Regions from separate parts of the Homo sapiens genome. Here all the other regions are linked to region 1. Evidence: promoter capture Hi-C in 16 types of primary human blood cells and fetal thymus (Javierre and others, 2016). All regions are on one chromosome and are shown on one strand. Each heading gives the region's core, a stretch centred on a gene start or on the middle of the fragment in contact. The rest is flanking DNA. Distances are from core to core; before and after follow the strand shown.

Region 1 (3,356 bases), core at 670-3,169:
GGTTTCCTTATTATTTTTTTTAAGTAATTTTCTTTGGAATTTCTCCAGCTCCATTATGTCTTTCTTGATTTCATAGAAATCCTAGTGGCTCATTTTCATGTACTAGCAGGACACTTCCCAAGAAGATGCAATGACCAGAAACTCCTACTGTTGAGTAGGCCCCACTTAGCAAGACCTACTGAATCAGAAACTCTGGGGGCCATCAGTCTGTTTTAAGAAGCTGTCCAGACTGCTGGGCCCCCAGAGATTCTGATTCAGTAGGTCTTGCTAGGTAGAAAAAAAGCAAAGAAGCTGTCCAGGTGATTCTGATAAAAATTAAAGTATGACTACCACTATAAATATAGTGGATTATCTTTCATGAGCCTTTCAGTGCTAAATTTGGGGGCCCTGTTAAAATACAAGCACTTTTGGCCTAGCTCTTTCACCCTCCATAGTACCCTTATCCATCCATCCATCCATCCATCCATCCATCCATCCATCCATCCATTTATCTAATTATTTACATTATCTGTGTTCAGAGTGCTTTAAAAGTAAAGAATAGGCCAGACATGGCTCAGTGGCTCATGCCTGTAATCCCAGCACTTTGGAAGGCCAAGGCGGTTGGATCAGCTGAGGTCAGGAGTTCAAGACCAGCCTGGCCAACATGGTGAAACCCCGTCTCTAATAAAAATACAAAAATTAGCCGAGCATGATGGCGTGCCTGTAGTCCTGGCTACTCAGGAGGGTGAGGCAGGAGAATCGCTTGAACCTAGGAGGCAGAGGTTGCAGTGAACCGAGATCAAACCACTGCATTCCAGCCTGGGCGACAGAGCAAGACTCTGTCTCAAAAAAAAAAAAAAAAAAAAAAGTCAAGAATAAAAAGTTTAAATACAATCCAATTTTTTAGCTATTGACCCAAATAATATGAAATCTTGAAAGCTAGTTTAGTTGCAGGAATATCTTCCCCCTGATATTGTTAACTTTCTTATGTTTTCTATAATCACGGAAAGGCAAAATTTACTTCCGAATTTTCAAAATAAGCATTTGTAATTCCATCAGAAACAACCCTACACCTGTTACTACCTAGGTTTTTATGGAGAATGTATTGGGAATACAGAAAAGGTATAAGCAAAGAGCCTGGCCTTTAGATCCTTTAGTCACTCTGGCTAGTGGCTAGGGATGACTAGTAAGATGACAGTCCTTAAGCGGATGACCATTGGACACATAAACATAGGACAACCACCTTCCATGCAATGTGGATAGAGTAACATGGTGTGTTGGAGAGATGCTCATTATTGGGGTGGGGGTGCTGGAGAAGGCTTCACGGGGCCCCTGACACATCAACGGCATTTGACATGAAAAGAAAGGGGCAAGGAGGTGGGGGTGGGGATTCAGTCACAGGGAACAAAATTAACAAAAGCAGTGGGGTCTGAAAGGAAGAGGAACGGCCGGGCAGTCAGGCCTCAGGAGGAAATGGATGGGGTAGGCGGTGGGGTGCAGGTAGCACGTCAGTTCTGGGGCTTTTGACAATATAGACAGGAGAATTTGAAAGGATGCAGCTTGCAAAACGCACACACTGTTGTCTCTTGTCATTGCCATCCACACGGCCTTTGAAAGTAGAGACAATACCTCAGAGATAAGCTCCCAGGGACGACCATCATTCATTCATTCCACAGATACTGACTGAGTGCCCACGGCGTGCCTGGCTCTGCGGCATACCTGGGTACCTGCCGGTGACGGACGCAGCCCCCGCCCTGGGACCTGCAGCCCCCGGCGCCCAGGCGTCTCCCAGCAGCGGCTCACCTGGCTCCTTGGCGGGGGCGGGAGTGCGGGCGCTGGGATCCCACACGGCTCTCGCCTGGCTGGCGGCGCTGCGGACGCGGATACCGGCGGCGGTTCCCGAGCCGTTGTGGCCTAGCCCGCGGGCGTTCCGGGCGGGCTGAGGAGATGAGAGTGGGGGAGGGGACGAGGAAGAGGAGCATGAGCAGCTGGGCTAGGGAGCCAGGAAAGTGGTACCTGGGTCGCCCTCCTCATACCTGAGTCGTGGGATCCCCTTGGTATTTGGTAAACCTGTATACCAAGGCTCCTTCTCTCTCCGAGGTTTTGCTATTCTTGATCGAGGGCCTATTTGGTGCCAGGCCTCGTGTCCTGAACATACAGCAGTGCACATGTGTCACATGTGTACTGCACAGACGGTAATTCACTAACGTCTCCGGAAGACTTAAGCCTTCCTCAGGTCAGAAGAGGTAAAAAGAAATGGAGGCTAGGAGGGTCACCCAGGTCTCCAACCATAGGCTGTCTGCCCCACAAACCCGGCTCTCCCCACTGAATGACACCCTCCTGCCCAGATCTGCTCTGGATGCAGACATGCCATCTGCACTCACTCCCTTTACCCTCCTCCCACCCTATCCCTGTCCCTAGCACTGTCTCTCACTCCACCTTGTATTCCTGCTTGGCCCAGTTACAGTTTTACACTTGTTTGTTTGATGACTGTGTTAATGTCTACCTTATAATGCACTTTATGTATTCCTTTTTGTAAATCATCTTACCCCTATGAGGGCAAGGACTTTTATCCCTTTCATTAACTGTTTTATTATCAGTGCCTACAGCAGTGTGGTGGACATAGGAAGTATTCAATTAATTTTTGTTGAATGATTGCCCTCCCATTGATTGTAAGCTCCACACCGGCAGCAACTGTAGTTTTTAATCACTTTTAAACTGCAAGTGTTTGACACCTAGTAGGCATTTAATACACATTGGTTGAATGAGTGTATGAATATACTGCTTACTTTATCTTTACCCTTTCATTCACCCTCACCTCATCATCCCAATTTGTAGGATAAAAATGTGCATTTCTGAGGATTCCTACTTCCAAGCTTCCTCCTCACCCTTTGTAACCATTCCCTCATTCCCTTGATCCCCCCAACCCCATCCCTCATGTCTTCACAATCATGTTTTTGCTCTTACTTCCCCTTCACCCTCCATTACTTCTTAGAAAGCTTCCTATCCTCCCTAGTTTGGAACATTCTCAAGCAACATGTTTTTGTAGATAAGAGAATTCCAGCCTAAGCTACATTGGATCCAAAACAGCTTTCCATGAATCACCCATGACTATCTGTTTTTTGGTTTTATATTGCTTTCCTTGAAGAGGACTGAGGATACTGTACCACTTGAAATCATGGTCACTGTTCATAATTTTTTCAACAAATATTTATGACACATGTTTTATGTTCTAGACATTGTGCTAGATGTTGGGACAAGATATGCAAAGTCTGAGCCCTCCAAGGTGTGTATGACACAAAATAGAATAATCACGGGAAATGTTGAGAAATGTCCTGGCTTGGATCTAGTTATTTCTAATACAAGAAACTAAGAGA
Region 2 (3,148 bases), core at 348-2,847, 270 kb after region 1:
CCTTTGAGTTTCCAAATGTTCGTGATTATGAGTAATTCTGTGGTAAACTTTTTGTGTATGTAGCTTTAAAAAATACTCTGTGGGTGAGATTAAGGGGTTGGATGAGATTTTCTTCCTAGGAGGTGCTCACTTATTTTTCCCTTCTTCAAAATTCCTTCCTGCTTCCCAAGCTCCCCTTATCCTGTCTCTACTTTCTCCTGGGTCCTTTCTCCCAACAAGGGGGGTGGAGAGGCTGGACGGACAGGAGAGCAGGATGGAGAAAACCTGGGCCCTGGAGGCAAGTAGCTCTAAGGCCCCCATCCCACCCACAAGCTGTGTGACCTCCGGATAATTGCTTCCCCTCTCTAAGGCTTGGTTTCCTAATCTGTAAAAAAAAGGGGGTTTAGATCCTAGCTCCTGACACCTACTAACTGTGTGATATTGAGCAGGTAATTAATCTCCTGGGGCCTCAGTTTCCTCATCTGTAAAAGGGGCCTTATGGTTTTATTTTGAAGATTAAAGGAGCAAAGCCACAAGCCCTTATCACAATGCTCAAATAAATGGTAGCTCTCATGAGAACGTCAAAGTGCTGAGTCCTAGCCACAGTCAGTCCCGCCTACTGCTGGGTGAAATCTGATGGTGGCACTTCAGGAATCTGTCCCCAAAATTGAGCCAGTATATGGATGGGGGCAGGCTTCTTCAATGGCCCTGGAATCACTCCAAGTAGGAACAGATACAACTCCTAAAGGAGAAATGGTCTCGTGCTGACTACCAGCTATTTTTGCTTCCTCTTCCGATTTGCCAGTGTATGGCACGGGTTTCTCAGCGCAGATTTCACCTCCACCACCTCAGTCCTCTTGGATTTGGTGGGACTGGATTTTTCTCTCTGCATCAGATGTGAACAGGAACTACTGACACATACTGAGAAACTGCAGTTGGTCTCCAGAGCCACACTCTTATCCCCACCTGCCATCTGGGAACAGAAAATGGGAGTCCGCCCAGCCTCCCCTGGGCTGCTTTCTGGGTAGGGGTCACCTCCAGCAGGAAACTACACCCCAAAAGGTGTCACCCTCCATTCCTCAGCTCACATTCTCACAGCCTCTTTCTCCTCCCTCCCAAGGGAGGAGAATTAATTATTCTTGCTGCCAGGCAAGCCACTCTGTCTACACTCGGCCCATCCTTGCAGCGGCCTTCTGCCAAAGGGAATGGCAGCGCAGGCTGGCGTGCTTGAAAATCCGCATTCCCCACACAGATGTGTGAATGTGGGTGCTGAGTGAGGTTGGAGCTCAGAGGATGCCATGTCTAAAATATCCATCCGGCATTCAGGCATGCCTGGCCAAACCTCTCTTCCGCCCTCCTCCCCCACTCCCTTCTTCCCTCTCACAGTTTGGTAAGTGACTCTGTCTCTCTGTACACACACACACACACACACACACCCTGTGAAACCATCACCACAATTAAGTTAGTGAATAATTCGTCATCCCCAAAATTTCCTCATGCCCTTTCGTGATCCCTCCCACCTTCCCTCACCCCCCGCCATTCCCAAGCAACCCCTGATCTGCTTTCTGCCATTATAGATTAATTCACTACAATGTGAACTCTTTTTTAAAAATCTGAATTCTTTCACTCTGCATAATTATTCTGAGATTCATCCATGTTGTTGAATGTATAAATAGTTTGTTCCTTTTTACGTTCCGTGCCACTGTATGAATGTACCACAGCTCATCTACCAAAAGAGTTGAATATACCACTGTATGCATATACCACAGCCCATTTACCCAGTCCCCTGTTGATGGACATTTAGGTTATTTTCAGATTTGGGCTATTATGGATAAAGCTGCTATGAACACTCACGCATGAGTCTTGGTGTGGACATATGCTTTCATTTCTCTTGGGTAAATACCTAGAAATGGAATGACGGGATTGCATGGTACATTCATGTTTAACATACATACACAAATATTTTAATTGTGGTAAAAAAACACGTAACAAATTTTAAGCACACAGTTCAGTAGTGTTAACTATTTCATATTGTTGTGCAGCAGATCTCTAGAACTTTTTCATCTTGCAAAACTGAGCCTTTACACACATTGATCAACAACTCCCCCTTTTCTCCTCCTCCAGCCCCCAGCAACCACCATCCCACTTTCTGTGCTGATGATTTTGACTACACTAGGTACTTCATATAAATGGAATCATGCGGTATTTGTCTTTTTGTGACTGGCTTATTTAACTTAACATAATGGCCTCAAGGTTCATCCATGTTGTAGCTGTAGCATGTGACAGGATTTTCTTCCTTTTTTGAGACGGAGTCTCGCTCTGTTGTCCAGGCTAGAGTGTGGTGGTGTGATCTCAGCTCACTGCAACCTCTGCCACCTGGGTTCAAGCGATTCTCCCGCCTCAGCCTCCTGAGTACCTGAGACTACAGGCACACGCCACCACGTCCAGCTAATTTTTGTATTTTTAGTAGAGACAGGGTTTCACCATGTTGGCCAGGATGGTCTCGATCTCCTCACCTCGTGATCTGCCTGCCTCGGCCTCCCAAAGTGCTGGGATTACTGGGGTGAGCCACCGCGCCTGGCCGATTTTCTTCCTTTTTAGAGCTGAATATATTCCACATGTTCTTTGTCCATCCATCTGACAAAGGACACTGGAGTTGCTTCCATCTTTCGGCTATTGTGGATAATGCTGCAGTGCCCATGGATGTCTCTTCCAGATCCTATTCAATTATTTTGGATATATAACCAGAATATATGTTTGACTTTTTAATAAACTGCCAAATTGTTTTCCAAAGCAGTTGTACCATGTTTCATTCCCACCAGCAGTGGATGAGCGTTCCCATTCCTCCAAAACTTTTGGGGTTTTTTTTGTTTTTTTGTCTGTTTTTTTTTTTTTTTTTGAGATGGAGTCTCGCTCTGTCACCCAGGCTGGAGTGCAGTGGCATGATCTCGGCTCACTGCAAGCTCCACCTCCTGGGTTCACACCATTCTCCTGCCTCAGTCTCCCGAGTAGCTGGGACTACAGGCGCCCGCTACCACGCCCAGCTAATTTTTTGCATTTTTAGTAGAGACGGGGTTTCGCCATGTTGGCCAGGATGGTCTCGATCTCTTGACCTCGTGATCCACCCGCCTCGGCCTCCCAAAGTGCTGGGATTACAGGCGTGAGCCAC
Region 3 (2,997 bases), core at 376-2,875, 350 kb after region 1:
GATGAAGGCCCCATCAGCTGAGGATTGTCCCATAGTGCTAGGGGTCCACTCTGACCCCCAACTCTGTCCCCTTCTGGTTATGTTGAGACCATTCTGCTGGCCGAGGCTCACCTTGTGATTTCCCCAGAGTCTGGCGAGCCCATTTGGATCCACAACTCGGAAGATCTTGGCGTCCTTGTCTTCCCACTTGATGTAGGGCTCATATCGGGTATCAAGGAGCAGCTGATACACGTAATCCCACAGCAGGCGGCAGTCTGCAATTTAGCACAGGGAGTGCAGGCAGCGCAGCTTTACTGGAGCTGTGAGGACAGGTGTTAGAAAGGCACTCTTGGAAGCCTCCCGGCCAGAGCCCTAGGAGCACCAGCAGGAAGGTGAAAATGATGATATCAACAGAAACAGCCACTAATGGGGCTCCTCACGCATTGTCTCAGGCAGTCTTCCTGAGTCTGGGAAGTCGTTACCTTTATCCCCAGGAAGAGGTGAGGAAATGGGCTCAGAGGTGCAGAGGTATCTAAAGTTGCCAAGCTCCTAAGTGGCAGGTAGAGCAGGGAGTCTGACCGGCTCCACCCAGCATCAGAGCCATGTGAGGGCAGGTGCTGGGCCCACAGGCTGAGGGGCTGGGCCCCTGACCCCAGGTCCCTCTCTGCCCCTGGCCCACTCACTCAGCCCCCTGGACTTCTATTAATTATAACATCCACCCCTTCAAGCTCCCTAATGGTGAGGCTCAGGAAAACCAGGCATGCCATTGGGAGGGCAAGTGGGCATCCGGGAGCAACTGTGTGATCTGAAATCCCAGGACCTGGGCCTGTCGGCTGGGCCATTGCAGGCAAGTTACACAACCTTCTCTGAGCCAGCTTCCTTGTATGGGGTGGTGAGAGAATTAGGTAACATAATAGACCACAAAACCCTCAGCACAGTGCCTGGTATACTGTAAGTGCACGAAGAATGTTAAGCATTATAATTGAAGAATTCAGTAATTGCAAGAGGCTGAAGTGGGAGGATTCCTTGAGCCCAGGAATTTGAGGCAGCAGTGAGCTATGGTGGCATCACTGCACTCCAGCCTGGCAACAGAGTGAGACCCTGTCTCTTAAAAAAAAAAAAACCCAGTAATTGTGGATCATTGTGTTTGTTATTGATACATAATATTTATGCATGTTTCTGGCGTCCATGTGAGATCTTGTTGCATGCATAGAGTGTGTAACGATCAAGTCAGGGTACTTAGGGCATCCATCACCTCAAGTATTCATCATTTCTATGTGTTGGGCCAATTGTTTTTTAGTGACTTCTAGTCATTTCCAACCCAAAAGCCAGGCTTCTGCCCACTCTGTGGCTTCATAGAATAAATGTGGTGTGGACATAACAATGGGAACAATAGACACTGGGCACTGGGGACCACTACAGGGGAAGAGCCAGGGTGGAAAAAACTACCTATCACAGGCCGGCACGGTGGTTCACGCCTGTAATCCCAGCACCAAAGGAGGCCGAGGTGGGTGGATCACCTGAGGTCAGGAGTTCAAGACCAGCCTGTGGCCAACATGGTGAAACCGTCTCTACTAATAAAACAAAAATTAGCCAGGTGTGGTGGTGGGCGCCTGTAATCCCAGCTACCCAGGAGGCTGAGGCAGGAGAATCGCTTGAACCCGGGAGGCAGAGGATGCAGTGAGTTGAGATCATGCCACAGCTCTCCAGCCTGGGCAAAAGAGCCAGACTCCCGTCTCAAAAAAAGAAAAGAAAAGAAAAGAAAAACTTCCTATCAAGTACTATGCTGAGTACCTTGGTGACAGGATTATTCATACACCAAACCTCAGTGGCACGCAATTTACCCATGTAACAAACCTGCACATGCACCCCCTGAACCTAAAATAAAAGTTGAAAAAAAAAAAGAATAAATGCAGTGTCACTATTATGACTAGAAAAACACCCTTCAGCTTATCTGTCAGTCTGTCTGGTTGTCTGCCTGTTAATCCTTTAACAATGAATGCAGAGTGGAAGTGTATCATTTGGTTAGCGCTCAGGATCTGGAGCCAGACTGCCTGGGTTCACATCACACCTCAACCAGTGCTGTGTGATCTTGGAGAAGTTACTTAACCTTTCTGTGCCTCAATTTCCATATCTGTGAAATGGGGCTAATAATAGTACCAAACTCAAAAGGCCATTGTAGAATTAAATAAGGGCTTGGGAACCACGCCTGGCACATAGTGAATGCTCAATTATTTTAAAACAGATAAAGTTTTAAAAGGCAGGTGTGGCACTCCATGCTAATGTGAGTGTCAGAATATGACTGGGTAAATTGTCCCTGTGTGGGAGACAGGGTGAGGCTTGGTGATCCCAGGTATCACTGCCCTCTGTGACCAGATTGTGGCTAGCACACAGGACAGTCAACGCTACCCTGCAATCCCCCAGCCACAGACCTCCCATCACCAGGTCAAAATAGCCCTGTCCTCATCACTCGTGACTCTGAGACTCAGACTCAGTGCACCTTCCATGGCCAGAGGAACAGCCTCCCACTCACCAGCGATCCTGCCGTCAATGGGGGCCTGCGGCATCGCGGGGAAGGAACAGACCCCCTGGGTCCTGCAGCCGAGCTCTGCACAGTGACATAAGTTGAGGGACTCCTCCTTGCCAGGGGTCCACCTTGCCAGGCCAGGGTCATCCAGGTGGCCGAAGTTGCTGGTAAGCCCTGGGTCTGGTGGCTGCAGCAGGTGGCCCCTTCGGGTGTCCATCTGAGAGGGGCCAGTCACCTCTGCAAGCAGATGAGCACCAGTGGTAGCAGGCAGTGGGCCCCAAGCCTCCCCAACTCAATCCCTCAATGGTGAGCCTGGGAGCCCTGTGGGGCAGCACTCCTGATGCTCTTTCTCCAACCAGCCCCTGGTTAGAAGGTCAGGGAGGCAGTGGGGGGCAGTGGGTGAGGGCCAGACAGCCTAAGTGCTAACCCCAGCTCCCACACAAGTAACAACCTGTCAAGCCTGTTCCCTCATCTATGAAAATGGCTGCAAA
Region 4 (3,313 bases), core at 205-2,704, 360 kb after region 1:
AGAGTTCAAGACCAACCTGGGCAACATACTGAGATTCCCATTTCTACTAAAAATTTTAAAATTAGCCAGTGTGCCTGTAGTCCCAGCTATTGGAGAGGCTGAGGTGGGAGGATTACTTGAACCCAGGAGCTGGAAGTTGAAGGTGCAGTGAGCTATGATTACACCACTGCACTCTAGCCTAAGTAAGCAACAGAGCAAGACCCTGGATCTAAAACAAAATAAAAATTTACTTTTAAAAACTCAGCTTTTCTCCTCCCCTCTACTTACGGAGTCTTCCTGGCAGCTTGCAGATCCCCCCTTCACCCAGCAGGTTAATTTGAGCTTCACATCTGGCTTGCACGTGGGTGCCTAGGGGAGGCATGGCTGCCACAGGGCTTATAGGAGAAATAGCCAATTCTCCCTCCTAGAGAGAGAAAAACCAGGACAGTCAAAGAAGAGCATCTTGGTGAAGGCTCAGCCATCTTTAAATGTCTTAAGAATTTTTTTGGAAGGGAAAGAGTGTTTATCTCCACCAGAAGACTGCATCAACCTTAAAGGTAGGAACCATGTATATCTTCAACTCAGTACCATCAACATTTTGTACCCAGTGGACACAATAAATGACATCCTTCCAATTCAAGCTTTCCATGCATGTGCCTAACTCCAAGAGGGATCCCCTGCCAAGACTTGTATGATTGAAATCTGAAAGCCTAGGAATCCTCACTGGATCCCTGGTGAGGACAACACAGGAAACCTGAGGGGCCAGGATCAAAAGACCTTAAATCAGAAATAAACAAATAGACCAGGTGCGGTGGCTCACACCTATAATCTCAACACTTTGGGAGTCTGGGGCGGGTGGATTACTTGAGGTCAGGAGTTTGAGACCAGCCTGACCAACATAGTGAAACATTATCTCTACGAAAAATACAAAAATTAGCCGTGCGTGGTGACCGGCGCCTGTAATCCCAGCTACTCAGGAGGCTGAGGCAGGAGAATCACTTGAACCCGGGAAGCGGAAGTTGGAGTGAGCCAAGATCACGCCACTGCACTCCAGCCTGGGCAAGAGAGCAAGACTCCGTCTCAGAACAAACAAACACTATTTTCAAAAGAGAAAAAGAAAGGATAAGGATACATTTCTGAATCCTAAGGTCTCACCACGGGAAGCCTGTATCTTTACAATTCAACAATCAGCATGGCCCCCAGAGATGACGGGGTTCATCCATTCAGATGAGAAAATGAAGAAAGTGGCAGGATTTTGTAGGAATAGGAAGCTCCTTCGGGCTCATGCCCAGCCACAGGCTGCCACAGCACGGAAAGGAAAAGTGAAACCAGCTCCATCAAGTCATTTTTCACTCTAGGATTGTCAAAAGCTTTACATTCATCTCTTGGGATCCGAGGAGAGATATCTGCCGAGAGAGAATTTGGATCGGAGCCAGCAAAGCAAACTCCAGAAGCCTTGGCTGCTGCGAAAGGGGATTCAACACCTTTCCGGGTCGTTCTCACTTCATTTCCAGCCGGTCCCCCTTTGGTGCTGTTTCCCAAGTAATCAGACCTCAGGGGTTGCCTCCTGGTGGGGAAAGGGAAGCTTGCCTTGCTGGAGAAGGGGCTCAAGGCACAGGACTTGCCTCGGACTTGCCAAGGAGGCTTGCAGGAGGCTCTTTGTCTACTCCTCTGTCCTCATCCAAGTAAGAGGAGCGGGGAATTCCGAGGCTGTAACTGCCTGGGAAACGCCAGCCACGGAGCTGCTGAGGATCAGACTCCTGGGTTTCAGCATGGAGGCCAGGGAAGGGTCTGATAATGGGTATGGGTCCTGGCGAGAGGGGAGTGGAGAAAGGCCTTGGAGTGGGACGGGGCGCCAGCTCTGGGGGCAGTCTCGAGGCACCTAGAAAACCGGCGAGTGGGGAGAGGCTGCTAAAGAGGGGCTCCCTGCGAGAATGCGTTCACCAGCTGTGAGGACCTGGCTGGCGCACGAACTTCCAAAGACCTCACATCTGGTTGGTGTAGGGGCGACCAGTGGTAAGGGGGCTGCGGAAAGGGCCCGCAGGGGCTGTGCGTGATGCCTTCAGAGCTGTGTATGACACCGAGAGAGTCAGGGGCGGTGACCCGCGTCTGGAGGTGGAAGGGGAAGTGAGTGAGGGATGGATGTGAGGTTTAGGAATGTGTTGGAAAGAGAGATTCCCGCCAGGTAAAAGGTCTGATAAAATAGGTTTGGAAATCTAGGTGGTGAGGAAAGGATGCGGGAGCAGGTGGCTCTGCGTGCGCGCTGCGTGTTCAGCCGCCAGGCTCTTACCTGCATTACAGGTGGAGGTGAGGAAGCCACCGGCTTTCTGTCTTGAGCGCTCCCCTGGCTGTGGCTGCTGGGGCCCTAGGCCCGCGCCCCGCAGTCCTCCTCCGCCAAACCCCTAACCTGGCTCCGAGAACTGGAAGGTCGCGTGGGAGGAAATCTCTTTCGAGAAGCGCCAAGGCGTGTGCGCCCGGGTCCTCCGCAGGCGGGCAGGCGCGCGAGGCGCTCCGGTAATCGCTATCCTTCCGGGAAACGAAAACGAAAGAGCGGGATGCGGTTCCACTTGCGCCGCTGCGGGCTAGGAGCAGGGCAGGGCAGGGCAGGGGCCGGCCCCGTGGGAGCGCAGCACCGGGGCGCTGCCCGCTCGCTAGCCTGGGAGGCGTGGGTCCTGCACACAGCCTCCAGCCGGCGGACAGTCCCTCTGGCGACCTGGCCTTGGCTCCCACTGGGGCAGAGCCGGGATTCTGCAGGATCTGAGGATCTAAGGGGACCCCTAGTCCTGAACTCGGAACCAACTGCGTCTCTCACGGTCCCGAGCCCAGGACCAGGAAGGACCCTGTGAGTCTCCGCACATAGGATAGGAAGGGGCCTCGCATGGTGCCTCTCCCTTTAGGGGTGAGTGACCTTCCCGGCCCCGATACTGTCTCGGCCTGCCGTTTGGCCCCGCTGAGGCCCCACAGGTCCGGAACCGTCGCACCACCATCAGAGCGGCTGTGCTCTCCTGAGCAGGGCCAGACTACTCGGAGATCCCGACTGACACCTTTTCCTGGGCCTCTGGGTGCTCCGGGGTTGGTGCCTGCCCACCCATCACCCTTTCCATCTGTCTCAGCTCCCCCTGTCTCAAGAGAGGTTGTGCGCATAAAAACAAACCAGAAGACACCGAAGAAAAGGAAAGAAAAGCATTAACAACCTTCTGCTGAAAATCTGAGGGTGTAGACGCTGTTACAAAGTAGGCTTAGCACTGGTATATCATCACAAGCTCTAGGCCAGCAATAAGAAACCAGTAAGAACAAGGCCAGAAACCCAGTAGGAAAAAAAAATGAGCAAAGG

Evidence for each region. The method cuts DNA at HindIII sites, captures the fragments that hold promoters and counts their contacts. A CHiCAGO score of 5 or more calls a contact.
Region 2: a contact is called between a fragment that was not itself captured here and the fragment with the promoter of SLC26A8 in region 1, in 1 of 17 cell types (naive B cells). The highest score is 5.5, in naive B cells.
Region 3: a fragment that was not itself captured here is called in contact with the fragment with the promoter of SLC26A8 in region 1 in 7 of 17 cell types (naive CD4 T cells, naive CD8 T cells, total CD4 T cells and 4 more); the score reaches 9.5 in naive CD4 T cells.
Region 4: a fragment that was not itself captured here is called in contact with the fragment with the promoter of SLC26A8 in region 1 in 3 of 17 cell types (total CD8 T cells, naive CD8 T cells and naive B cells); the score reaches 5.8 in total CD8 T cells.

Annotation. Positions count from the first base shown.
Region 1 is chr6:36,022,722-36,026,077 of GRCh38, forward strand. SLC26A8 (solute carrier family 26 member 8) reads right to left here and starts at 1,920. Exons shown (of 20, transcript NM_052961.4): 1 at 1,783-1,920. RefSeq lists enhancers at 1,365-1,866, 1,867-2,366. The HindIII fragment of the contact is 10,062 bases long and covers 1-2,853 here.
Region 2 is chr6:36,296,475-36,299,622 of GRCh38, forward strand. The region is part of intron 5 of PNPLA1 (patatin like domain 1, omega-hydroxyceramide transacylase); the gene reads left to right. Among named protein-coding and RNA genes, the nearest start is that of PNPLA1, 28 kb to the left of the region's middle. The HindIII fragment of the contact is 3,545 bases long and covers 1-3,148 here.
Region 3 is chr6:36,368,818-36,371,814 of GRCh38, forward strand. It overlaps ETV7 (ETS variant transcription factor 7), which reads right to left. Exons shown (of 8, transcript NM_016135.4): 5 at 2,513-2,743; 6 at 112-254. Among named protein-coding and RNA genes, the nearest start is that of ETV7-AS1, 16 kb to the right of the region's middle. The HindIII fragment of the contact is 7,053 bases long and covers 1-2,997 here.
Region 4 is chr6:36,385,267-36,388,579 of GRCh38, forward strand. ETV7 (ETS variant transcription factor 7) reads right to left here and starts at 2,403. Exons shown (of 8, transcript NM_016135.4): 1 at 2,270-2,403; 2 at 268-403. The coding sequence starts at 2,275. It overlaps ETV7-AS1 (ETV7 and PTX1 antisense RNA 1), which reads left to right and starts at 1,354. Exons shown (of 2, transcript XR_926758.3): 1 at 1,354-1,664. RefSeq lists an enhancer at 1,474-2,297 and a silencer at 2,424-2,633. The HindIII fragment of the contact is 215 bases long and covers 1,348-1,562 here.